2 separate regions of the Homo sapiens genome follow, and region 2 is linked to region 1. Evidence: promoter capture Hi-C in 16 types of primary human blood cells and fetal thymus (Javierre and others, 2016). All regions are on one chromosome and are shown on one strand. The core of a region is centred on a gene start or on the middle of the fragment in contact, and the rest is flanking DNA. Distances in the headings are between cores, read along the strand shown.

Evidence for each region. Contacts are between HindIII fragments. The CHiCAGO score rates a contact against its expected background, and 5 or more counts as called.
Region 2: a contact is called between a fragment that was not itself captured here and the fragment with the promoter of TRPC3 in region 1, in 3 of 17 cell types (megakaryocytes, total CD4 T cells and naive CD4 T cells). The highest score is 5.3, in megakaryocytes.

What each region holds. Positions count from the first base shown.
Region 1 is chr4:121,950,760-121,953,363 of GRCh38, reverse strand. It overlaps TRPC3 (transient receptor potential cation channel subfamily C member 3), which reads left to right and starts at 1,304. Exons shown (of 12, transcript NM_001130698.2): 1 at 1,304-1,898. The coding sequence starts at 1,684. LOC102724158 (a long non-coding RNA gene) reads right to left here and starts at 2,382. Exons shown (of 3, transcript XR_427598.4): 1 at 2,295-2,382. RefSeq lists a silencer at 1,444-1,713. The HindIII fragment of the contact is 12,740 bases long and covers 1-2,604 here.
Region 2 is chr4:122,246,719-122,249,322 of GRCh38, reverse strand. BLTP1 (bridge-like lipid transfer protein family member 1) reads right to left here. Exons shown (of 88, transcript NM_001384125.1): 34 at 2,513-2,604; 35 at 1,966-2,165. Among named protein-coding and RNA genes, the nearest start is that of BLTP1, 96 kb to the right of the region's middle. The HindIII fragment of the contact is 2,883 bases long and covers 1-2,604 here.

The DNA.
Region 1 (2,604 bases), core at 55-2,554:
GATTTTAACCTGAAAGTAGTGGGAAGCCACCAGAGATTTTTATAGAGAAAAGTCGTGATCAGACTTTGCTTTAAGCATGGTCTTTCCAGTAGTACAAAGAATGAAACAGTATGGGGAGAGGTGGGCTGCAGAAAGGCTGGATAGCAGGGAGAAGCAGGGGAGCCTGAATTGAGGCGGTGGTACCGGGTGGAGAAGGGCAGTCCTGCTTTAGAGATATTCCAGAGGTGAAACTGAATAGGTCTGCTAACCTACATTGTGAAACCGTTAACACTTGCATATGTACTAACAACTGAAAAGCACTTCCAAACATAAAGCACTATACAATATTTACTTGTTTTTGTTTTTCCTATATTAGATGTATAAATGCTATTGCTTCTTTCAACATATAGACTTGCCAATTTAATACACAATATTTTATTTACTTTTTAAGAATTAAATTCAAAGGAGCTACATTTTCTTGTGTTTTGCTTAAATTTGGGAAGAATTGTTCCTCTAAAAAGTACAGTATAATTGGATACAGTTAAATAAATTTTATCTCATCAGAGCGTGTCCAGTATTTTTGTGATTTTTCCTAGTTGGACTTGCTAGAAAGCCGTCTATTTGAAGCAAGGGAAAGTCTGGAAGAACACACTCTTCTGGATCTAATCTAAGTTTTCTCACTACCCACCTATCATGAGTACCTTTTTCAGTCTCTCTAGGCCAAGGGTTTCTTATTTAAAAGGACCAAGAGACTCCTTGATCCCTAAGATTCCTGCTAAGATTCTGTACCTCTTTCCTCCCAAAAGAATGACTGGTCTTGAATTCTAAAATGCAATTTTTGTGAGTGTGTTTTAAAAAGAAGACTGCATTTCGCTGAAAAATCTTCCTTGGAAAGTATATAAATCTTATTAGACGCCTTTGAGAGTCATTAAAAGAACTGAAGCATCATGCACGTTTAAAACATTACCAGGCTGGATGGAGTACGAAGGCACTCAGGGGAAGGTACTTAAACCTCCGTAGGTTCAACCAAGTCTTACCGGGAGTAACCCAACGAACAAGTGATGCTTTTTGAGACAAATTTGGAGAGTTGGCTGCAGGAAAATTAACAAGCCAGTGGATTTCCTTTTCCCTTCCTTAGGAAACTTGTTTCTGTAGATGCAAAAAGGGCCCTAGATCCTCTGGAAGAGAAAGAGAGTGGGGAGGGGAAGTTTCTCTTTCTTTACTCCCCACCTGCGGTCTGTCTGATTTCCTCTCCAGCTCTGTCTGATAAGGAATTGATTCTCCCCCTCCTCTTCCCCCTCCCGCCCTCCCTCTCCTTCTCCCTGAGTAACGATGCTGTCCTAGCAAGTGATGCTGTCGGAGACAGGAGACGGGCGCCGAGGAGGCATCGCCGCCGCCGCGGGGCTGGAGAGCCTCTCCCAGCACCAGAGCCCCGCTCGGCCCCGGGCTTCCTCGTCGCAGCCACGGCCGCGGCAGCTGCTCCCACGGTTTGATGGTGGGCGGCGGCAGCTCGGCTTCGGCGCTAGCCTCTAACTGCTGGATCGCGGGCCGCGACGCTCTCCGCTCCTGCCTTCCCGCCCTGGGCCGCCCGGGGCCCCGGAAGCCGCGGGAGGTGGTGAAGGGGCGCCGCGGGAAGACTGCACTGCCGCGAAGGCGGAGGAGGCCGGCAGCCGGCACCCCCACACTCGGACCGCAGCCGGCGCGATGTCCACCAAGGTCAGGAAGTGCAAAGAACAAGCAAGGGTGACCTTCCCGGCGCCGGAGGAGGAGGAAGACGAGGGCGAGGACGAGGGCGCGGAGCCGCAGCGCCGCCGCCGGGGCTGGAGGGGCGTCAACGGGGGGCTGGAGCCGCGCTCGGCGCCCTCGCAGCGGGAGCCGCACGGCTACTGCCCGCCGCCCTTCTCCCACGGGCCGGACCTGTGAGTACCGGGCCCGGCCGCGGCCCGCGCCTCGGAGGGCGGTGCCGGGCGGGGGGCGGGAAGGCGCGCGCCGGGCGGCTCCACGTCGAGCCCGGGACCTCCGAGACCCACATGGTACGGCCAGGCAGTTCGATTTGGAGTGATTTGGAGGGGACAGACCTCGGCCGGAGGCTCGCCCCCTCGGTCCCGCGCGGTGGAGGGACACAGGGGCTGCCGAGTGCGTGGCAGGGGCTCTGTCCAGGCTCAAGCACACGGAACAGCCCGCAGGCGGGCACACTGACTTCAGACAAGCATCCTGGCGAGCAGCCACTCCCTGTATTAGAGCCGAGGAGCTCGCACGACTGCTGCCAGGGCTGGGCACCCCTTGGAAGACGGACCCCGGGGTCCCGAGCTTACCCAGGGAGGCCGAGGAAGGGGAAGATGTGCACAGACCCAGGCGCGCACTTGAACCCTGAACTCCTCCCGGGCGTCCCAGCGTGGACTTGGGTCCCCTCCGACGCTCTGGGACGTCGGGGGCGGGGGCAGAGAAGTGGGGAGTAGGGAGGGGACAGTGCGATACAGGGTGTGGGTTGAAGGTTTGCCCAGGCGCCTCGTCTCTCTGTGGTTCAGTCACATTTGGGGTAAAACTGGAACCGAAGCCCTATAGGGTCCCCTGAGGGAGAGAGTGGGCATCGGGCAGCCGGGGAACCGCTTTAGTGATAACTTT
Region 2 (2,604 bases), core at 77-2,576, 300 kb before region 1:
GCTGCCTAAGAGGAAGAAAAGAAGATTTTATGATTAACAAGTTGCTCAAAGGTAGTATGAATTTGTTTCTGAATGATTACAGGATACTCTAAAAAATATAAAGTTAAAAATATCCTAAATAATTTATCTTCACAGTAGTTTTAAATACTTTCATCATCTCACAAAATAAAAAAAAAATTCAATTAATTACCAAGCCTTAGGAAAAACATTATTTTCTAGGCAAATTATAGCTTTTACTAAAAGACTGTTTTATACTGACATATTTTACATAACTACAATTCATCATAGACCTTGTCATGGTTCCACTGCTTACAGATACACTGTGGAAATTAACACCCCAAGTGCCTGAGAGAAGTTTTACTTTATCTTACTTTTTTCATTTCTCTCTCTGATTATTGCTAATGAATATAAAAAAACAAAAAGAATATTAAAAACACATGTAAATTTACCATTCAAGGAGAACTTGTTTATATTTGAAGTACACTGCACTCTAGCCCTTTAGAGATCACTTTGCAAACCCAGCTTTGGCTCCCATTTTCATGCAACAGTAAATAATTTCCTCAGGTCATTAAAATTTTTTCAAAGATATCATTTTAATAGCTATATAATATTCTATGCTATGGAAATGTCATTCTTTGCATTTATAATTAAAAGGTCTTATTCAGAGAATAAACATTCACCTACATTTTCCTATAATTTTCTCATTATTTAATTTTTTTGTATTTGTCTTTAATCCCATACATATTCAGATGTATCAAAGTTCAAAAAATTATGAAAAAGTACGCAATGAAAAGCCTCTAACACCACAACCAGACACCTAGTTCCCCTCCCTATAAGGGTAACAAATATTATGAGGTTATTAAGTAACCTTTGGCAGATAACTAATGTACATATAAGCAAAGACATCTACATTTTTACAGAAATGTCCACCTTGGAATTTCGTTGGGAGTTTTGTCTTCAATGAGAGTGTTTTCTGCATGATAATGCCTTTCAAAATTATATAAGGTTCTGCTTATGGTCTGTATAATACCCAGTGCAAATTGGTTACCCACGCAAACTACAGAGCTGATAAAAGTGTCTTCACTCAAGCCACCACATTTTTCACCAGTTTTAGGACTACAGATCTTAGGTAGTCATGAAAAGTCCCTTGAAAACCTCAGGTCAAATGCTTTCAGCCTCACACCTGGGATGAAAAAAATAAGCCTTGAGAAAGTCAAAACAGGTACACAGACCCAGAATGCAGACAGGAATCATGGAAACTTCAGAACCTATAAAATACAGTAAGCAAATTCAGGGAATTCATTTGTTTACTCAGAATTGGTCACCAGTCCCACATAAAGATTTCAGCAGAGCAATCATCTCAAATACGATTAGCAAATCTAACTTTTTCTGAATTGAATCTCTGACATTCTGAAAACATTTAAGCATCTAAATGATAAAATGTGCTAAATAAGAATCAAAAATATTAAAATGATGTATAACAGCTCTACTTTCCTTTTACCTAACTAGGGACTTTAAGAGGAATGTGTGTCACCTTATTGCTGCTGTATTTTACAGACTCTCTGGTTTTGATTAATATTACAATTAATTCTTTCTAACACTGTTTTACAAACAGAATGACTTAAAAAATAAGAAAGACTATAAAGATCATGTCTTCTCTGTTCTATAACGAGCAAGTAAATAGCATGGAAAAAACACATGGGAAATAGAAACATGGGAAATAGAAGTTCCTAATTTGGGGCCATACCACTTAATTTTCTTACCAAAGTTTATTTTCTATTCTGTACAGAATGTGAGTGACAAGTAGCTAAATACCACGTGTTCAATATAGGGAGAAATACCTTTCTCTTTCTTATAGAATACCGAATTGTAGCAATAGTCAAAGGAAAAAAACATGTTCCCTTCTGCAAAATCATCTTACATTTATATATGCCAAGAAAAAACATATTTGTTGTAGAATCCTACCTGTTGTATCAAGACCCCTAAGTTGCCCATGAACTCGATGAATGTTTAACTTAGCTGCAATTTCTTTGCCTTTTTCTGCTCCAGCATTTGATCTGAGAGATCCAGATGACTGAGGCTGCATCTTTGTGGCATGAACATACCTATCAAAATTTGATGTTCTACCAGGTTCTGCATTGTTTGAAGTCTCTTCAACCACACCTCTTTATGAAAAAAAAGAGAGTAAAATGTTTAACATTTAAATAATACAGTTCAGAGAAAACATTTACCTAAAAGGTTTCCTTTAAAAAAAACAAAACACTCTACTATTATACACCAATAGTAGTAAAAAATTATTCAATGTTTACTGAAAGATACTATGAATAGAAACAGTAAAAATTTTTTAAAGACATATGTTACTAATCTATAAATTAAGATTTGAAATTCCAAAACCAGTTCTGAGTTTTAACATTACATTCTTAGAAATGTATTTTTAAAAGAAAAGATGATCAAGGCTTGCTTTTACATCCAGCAAGATAATCATGGCTCAGATTAATAAAGTATTTCTTACCTGTTCATGCGAACCTGTGTAGCAATTCTGTCAAAACACAATGCCACTAGGGAAACATGAGTCACACTCCTACTAGGAGCCGTAGTTGGAGA